2 separate regions of the Homo sapiens genome follow, and region 1 is linked to region 2. Evidence: promoter capture Hi-C in 16 types of primary human blood cells and fetal thymus (Javierre and others, 2016). All regions are on one chromosome and are shown on one strand. The core of a region is centred on a gene start or on the middle of the fragment in contact, and the rest is flanking DNA. Distances in the headings are between cores, read along the strand shown. Region 1 overlaps LINC02832 (long intergenic non-protein coding RNA 2832). Region 2 holds the start of EPHA4 (EPH receptor A4).

Evidence for each region. Contacts are between HindIII fragments. The CHiCAGO score rates a contact against its expected background, and 5 or more counts as called.
Region 1: a fragment that was not itself captured here is called in contact with the fragment with the promoter of EPHA4 in region 2 in 1 of 17 cell types (M2 macrophages); the score reaches 6.3 in M2 macrophages.

What each region holds. Positions count from the first base shown.
Region 1 is chr2:219,733,423-219,736,986 of GRCh38, reverse strand. All of the region lies in intron 1 of LINC02832 (long intergenic non-protein coding RNA 2832), which reads right to left. Among named protein-coding and RNA genes, the nearest start is that of LINC02832, 5.2 kb to the right of the region's middle. The HindIII fragment of the contact is 4,545 bases long and covers 1-3,564 here.
Region 2 is chr2:221,570,470-221,573,885 of GRCh38, reverse strand. EPHA4 (EPH receptor A4) reads left to right here and starts at 1,582. Exons shown (of 18, transcript NM_004438.5): 1 at 1,582-1,728. The coding sequence starts at 1,638. RefSeq lists silencers at 117-276, 327-606, 1,207-1,626. The HindIII fragment of the contact is 12,678 bases long and covers 1-3,416 here.

The DNA of each region.
Region 1 (3,564 bases), core at 49-2,548, 1.8 Mb after region 2:
TCATTTAGAACTTCATTCTGTGATCCAGTGTGTCTCAAATAAAATACAAACATACATTTTTGTTTCCAAAACCAAACCAAATGCAAAAGCTGAGACTGGGGCTTATACCTCCCTAGCTTACCCTTCAGTACCCAGCCCTGAGCTCTCCACTTGGCCAATGTTCCATACATTTTTGTCTTTCTCCCCTGCAGAAATTCACCAGGGGATTCTCTCTAAAGGCTTATGCCAGTCACTTCCAGGGTGTTATGAAAACCTATTTTTTGGCCCATGGGGCAGAGAATTGGGTAGAATTTGAGCCAGCACTGGCAAGCATTAAACTAATGCTTGATGAAGTGGATTAACTAAAAGATAGGATTATCAATACATAACCTAGTGGTTCTTATTATATGTATGTGAGTTATCCATTTAAGAGTCCAGGTAGGGTAATACGTTTAAACAGTGCATACGTAAGAAGACACAGAGGGTGTGAATGATGCATATGTTTCCACCAGCCCTCTGGCTGTGCTTCAAGCTGAAAACTCCTGCATTTCCTTGGACTAAGGAACCACAACTAAGAAGGCATTTATTGGGAACGATAAAGGAGAAAGGGTGACCTCTGCTGGGGAAATGAGTTTGTATCTCATTATTTTCTCCAACTCTGTGAAGAAAAAAGTGAATAAAGTGGGAGGAGGTAGAAATGTAACAATGTCCTCCAGGAACAAATGATCATTTTTCCCCACTAATAATTTCTACAATCTCATCAACAAAAGGTCATTGTTTGTTTGGCACATGAACTCTTTAATGATGTGTAGAAATGAGATTCGACTAGGTTTTATAGTGTTTAATAATCATTCTCTAGAAAAAAATGAAGAAATGCTTTCATTTGGAACTGAATAATTTGCTTTATTTTCCTTTTTCTTTTTTGATATTTCACTAATGAAATGAAGAATCTGCAACTGCTTTTTAAATATGAGAACTACTTAGAATAAATGAAAGTCCAGCCCCCAAATGTCTCATTAAGGTCTACAAGTATTCGTTGGATAAATCCACATTTTAGGAATTAAAATATTAAAAACACTTTCAAACAATCTCTACATTTTACAATTGAATGTTTTATGAAGAATGGGAAATACATTACATCGCTTTAAAACTCAGCAATGCTCAGAACAAAATCACTTCTTTGTCGTTCTCATTACATTGCTTGATTTCACTCCTTTGCGTGTCTTTCATCGCCTTTTGACGAGCAAAAAACATGTGTTGTGCCACTGGCCCTCCAACAGCATTCAGTTATTAGTCAGACTTTCCCTGATTCTAGACATCACTTTGGTCTTTAGCTTTGCCAAGTTTAAAGCAAAATACCTAATTTCAAGTTTTCCATAGAAAAGCTGGGCAAGATCCTTTTAAATCTAGCTTTTTAATTGTGTGATGCTGGTGCACATGTAATTCTTCTGTGTGTGTAATTAGGCTCATCAAGGGAGGGAGTGAAGAGGGGACACACAGGAAAGCAGACTTGGAATATCATTCAGAGTTATAGAAGCTGGATTACACTTTTGGGAAACCGTATGTCCTTTGGGAGTCATGACTATAAAAGACATCAGTATCCACTGTAATGGAACCCATGCTCTATCTTTACCAAAAAAATTTAATAAATCAACTTAAATAGAGTGTTTCTTTAAATACCTGTTTATATGTCCTACATAATAAAAGAATTGTATCTTTGTCAGATGCTTTGCTTAAGCTAGTGCACGCTTCCTTCCCACTTCCCTCAGCCTGATGACACAACAGACTATTTCATCGTCAACACCTTTTTGGAAATTGGGCAGAGAGGACAGAGAAAGGGGAAAGAGTAGATTTAACGTTTATTGGTTGGGTTCCTGCCTGGGCCTAAACTGGGGTGGGTGGGGAGGAGAAAAGAATAGGAGTGAAAACAGGTCAAACAGGACTCATTCCCAGCACTTGCCATGACCTCTTCACTCCCTTGCTTTTTCCTCTAATATCATAAACGTATTCATTCTTTCCTCAGAATATCAAGGAGATGTATTCTTCCTTGAAGGCAATGTTTTTGCTTCCTTTTGTTTTATTAAAAAAGTAGACAATGAATTAAGAAATTAATCAATTCTAAATGTTCATATTTATTTAAATGCCAGTATGCATCGAGTTTTTAAAAAATTAACATAAGACCCTAAAAATTCAAGTAATTGTATCTAATATTAATGACAAGAAACAGTAAAGATGGAAGAAACATATTCCTGAAACCATATGTATTTCTTAGAAAAAGGTGACCTTACAGGTGTAATCATTCATATTAGCATTCGATAGACAACCATCAGTTAAGTAAGTCACTACAAAGGCCTAAGTCATTTCTCTCATTTGATTAATATTAAGCACCTGCTGTATGCCATGCACTGCGCCGGGCATTAGGGAGACAACTCTAATAAAGTCAGATTTCCTTCTGGTCCTTCTGGAGCTTATAATATCATGCCAGACATCAATCAACCATCCACAATTTTAAATATAAAATTACAATAGTGATGAGTGCTACCACTGAGAGGTAGATGGTGCTACGGGAGCATTGTTTTTCTTAAAGAATTGTGTTTTTAAAATCCATCTGCATAGTGGGAAAATCCAGCATTGTTGAATTCTGGCCTAGGGCAGAAATAGCTCAAATCAAAGAACTAAAATCAACATTTTATAGGAACAACATGACCGAGCAAACTCTGAGGTAGTGGTCAAAAAGGTGCTTGATTCAATTTAAATATATTTGTTCAGCATCTATGCTATGTAAAGAAGTGCTTATCAAACTTTCATGTGCTCGGGAATCTCTTGGCAATCTTATTCAATGCAGATTTTGCCTCTGTAGGCTCAGGGTGGGGCCTGGGATTCTGCATCTCTAGCAAGCTGTTAAGAGATGCTGATGCTTCCGGTCCCTTCATCATACCCTAAGTAGCTCCAGTTCAGGCCAAGATGCTGAACTAGCGAGGCTGCTGGATGTCCATCCCACCTCTCACCCCTATTAACCCCACAGGAGCCAGAAAAGTAAAGAAGAGAACACTGTGAGAAGCTCTTGAGTTGACTGGGGATGTTATTTCAAATGAGGTTGTGAAGTGGTGGCTTTGTCCCAAGGCAGGAAGCAGCCCAGCAGGGTTGTGGGAAGAGAAAATAGAAAAACTGGTGGAATTCTGCTCTCACCAACCCCATATCTCCTTGGGGCAAACAGTGCCTGCACCTCACCTGCCAAGCTCAGATATCCTCAGAAGAAACTGAGGATCCTCAGAAGAAATAATCTGGAAGTTATTTCTATGTCTCTTCCCCTTCAAACTCCCAGGGCTGGAAAGTGACAATCTGGTCTTGATGGTGGGCCTCAAACTTGGCTGAAGATACAAATCATGTGGGGAGCTTGAAAGTACTTGGATTCCACCTCTAGAGATTCCATTGAAATTGCTCTGGAGCATGACCCAGGCATCCAGATTTGTAGAGGCTTCCCAGGTCATTTGAATGTGCAGCCAAGATTTAAAACCACTGAATTCTGACTGTCTCCTGCAAATCTGCTTCTCTCTGAGGGACAAAAGATGAAGGCCTGAGCTA
Region 2 (3,416 bases), core at 333-2,832:
CTCCAGGACCTCTTGAGCGCTGTCCGCAGCCCCACGGTAGGAGTAGCCCTAGTGCACGAGACTTGGCGGTGGCTGAAAAGCTCGCCCAAACGCACGCACCACCTCTCTGCGGGGTTGCGGATTGCGGGTTGCGGTCTTTGTCCGCTCGCCCTTCCTCCGGGGCCGCACACTCCCGCATCTGGCCGGCAGGTGGCGCGGTTGGCTCACGATGAGCTGCGGCCGGGGCTGGAGAGGCTCCTCCACCTCCCAGCGGCCGCCCGGCCGCCGGGACCCAGGCTCCCCAGGAAAACTCGGCCCTGCTCTGGAGGGAGTCAGAGGAGGGGCGGCCTGGGAAGGGGAAGGGAGGCCTCATTGCTAGGAATCAGTGCCCCTGCCAGCGCCTGGGGAAATGCACCGAGTGGCGTTGGGGACCGGTCCCTGGGACACCGGCTGCGCTGCCTTCGCCGGACCGCTCTTAGGTGGCCGCGTCCACGGCTCGGGCATCGGGAAAAGACCACAGCCCGATGGTGCCAGTGCCCCCGGGGCCGGAGCAGCCGGGCGGGGCTCTGCGGGTCCTCCTGCTCGCCGTCTTCTCCCGGGGCAGGGAGGGCTGCCCCGGCTAGGTCGGAGCGGAGAGTCGCAGCAGCCGCTCCGGGCAGCTTCCCAGTCCCGGTCTGCCTTGTCTGTGCGGCTGCAAGTCCCCGCACCCACACTTAAGCCTTTCACTTCTACCCCACCGCTCCCAGACGGGCTAGGCCCGGTTCCAGGGACTGCCCCCAACCCTGCCCCCGGGAAATCCACAACTGGTTCCCTGCCCAAGGCCATCTCGGGGCGTCCTGGGCCCTGGGCGAGGTCCACGGCGTGTGCAGGGGGACGGGGCCAGCGGGGACTTCCTTACTGCTAGAAAGTCATTCGTTCAGTCTCTGGAGACAGTGACGGAGCCCTGCTGCGGACTGGACGTTGGGGACCAAGTAGGTCCCCGCTCTCCAGGCATCTGGGGAGCCAGGGAAGAAGCGAGTGATAGAGCCACAAAACTCCCCGCAAAGAGTATTTCAGAGGGGGAAGCGCCATAAAGACAAAACAGGGCAAGGTGGCAGAGGGTGGCGGTGGCAGGCGCGAGTCTGCAGCTCAGCCCGGGCGCGCTGGACGCAGACACGTCGACTCTCCTAAAGAAGCAACCGCAGGTCAGCTTAGACTTCTTTTATTTCAATAAAAGAGCGTTTTCCTCCATCTTAAACCGCCCGTGGTGGGAGAAAAGGTTTCCAACCTCTTCTCTGGCTCCCCTCGGTCAATTCCGAGCTTTTCCAAAGTCCCTCCGCCGTCCAGGGGCTCGACCTTCGAGGTAACGTGGGGGATCCCGCTGGCTCCCTCCGGCAGGCGGGGGCGGGGACCGGCCGTGCTCGCCCCCTAGAGCCCCGGGAGACCGCGCGCCCCGTGGAGCCCGGAGGGGGCGGAACCCTGGGGCGGGCCCTGCTCGGTGAAGGCGGGGCTCGGCCGCCCTGTCTGCGCCGCCATTGGCCGCGGGCCCCGGACTGGCGGGCTCACGTCACCGGCCGGGCCCGCCCCCTTGGCAATGTCTTCAGCCCGCTGCTCTCCTAACTTAAGCATTTATTCCACTGGGATAGAAGCGGCAGGAGCAGCGTTGGCACCGGCGAACCATGGCTGGGATTTTCTATTTCGCCCTATTTTCGTGTCTCTTCGGGATTTGCGACGCTGTCACAGGTTCCAGGGTATACCCCGCGAATGAAGGTAAGAGCGGGACGGCCTTTCTGTGGTCGGGGACAGCGAGGGGCCATCGCGGGTGAGGGGTCCTCAGGAGCGCAGGGCCAGGTGGTGCGGGGGGAGCCCAGTGTGAATGGTGCGTCCCGATTCGGGAGAAGGGGGCTGAGGCGAGGGGATCGGCGAAGGGGCAGCGGGGAACCGCCGGACAGCCTGCCCCGAGGCGGTGACCCGTGCACGCGGCGGGTCTGTCCAAGTTTGTAACCAAAGGCCAAAGTTTATCAGCATCCGCCAGAGAGGCCCGCTCGAGGCGCCCTGAGGGGATGCACGGGAGACAACGCCGGGATTTAAAAAAAAAATTACAAGAACCACGTCCTCTCCTGAGCCAGCCCGGGGCGAGGGGAAAACGCAGCCTGGAGCACAGTGAAGGCTTGGTGCTCCCGGATTCTAGCGAAAGCCTTTCGAGCTCTGGTTTCTGCAAAGTTTCCCGAGCCCTGCGCTTCTCGGGACCGGGCTGCGGGGCCTGCTCCGCAGCGCAGCGGTCGTGGCGCCGCTCGTCAGGCGCCAGTGACCTGATTTCTAGCACCCGGAGTCAGACACCTTTCTCCTCGCCAAGCCCAGCGCCCCGAGGGTGCGATTGCGGGCCTGAGGGGCCCGAGCTCTTCGCCCCGCAGACTTGGGGAACCCGCCGGCAAGTTGAACGCAGTCGAGTTTTAGCTTTTCGCCCCAGAATTGCACACAGTTTAGAGCTAACGTGCGGGGTCGACGGGACCCGTCTGGGTGCTCAGTTTTCTGTGCATCCGTTCGGACGTGCTGGGAGGATTGTATGTGCCTGTGTGTCTGTGTCGGGAGGTGGGGCGGGGCGGGGGGGCGGTGATCATTTAGTTTCTGAGAAACCCAGGGAGAGGCGAACTGTGTGTGTGTGTGTGTGTATGTGTGGTGTGTGTGTGCATGTCTGCGTGTGTGTGCATGTCTGCATGTGTGGTGTGTGTGCATGTCTGCGTGTGTGTGCATGTCTGCGTGTGTGTGCCTGTGTGTGTGCGCGCGCGTGCAACTGCGTGTATGTAGGTGCGCGAATGCCTGCGTGGAAGCGGACGCGGAGGATTGTATGTCTGTGCGCAGATGTCCTGAGTGTGTGCGCGTGTGTTCGAGTGTATGCTCGTGCTCTGTTCCAGCGTATGCTGGTGCTCTGGCCTGCGTGCATCTAGTCTCACATCCGTCTCTCATTCTTCTCCTTTCCGGCATCCATCTATCTATCCGTCCGTCCATCCGTCTATCTATCCATCCATGCATCCATCCATCTCTCCGTGCATCCGTCCGTCCGTCCATGCATCCATCCATAATGCATCCATCCATATATCTGTCCGTCCGTCCGTCCATCCATCCCTCCATCCATCCACCCATTCATCTATCCATCCATCCACCCATCCATCCATCCATTCATCTTTCCATCTCTCCAGACATCCGTCCATCCATCCCTGTGTAATCTATCGTTTTCTCTGTTCCGAAGGAGGGAGCCAAAAACCAACTTAGCCTTGGCTGGGCAGCCGGTACCCGGAGCCCTCCAGACGGAGGCTCTGAGAGATTTATACACCTGCCCACAGACATCGCTTGGGAGGAAAGGGGCCCTCTCTCGCCCTCTGGATCTCCCATCTCCTTCCGACGTGGCTTCTGGTGGTTCTGGTGCCATCTCGGCCGTCGCCGCCCCTCGGTCCCTA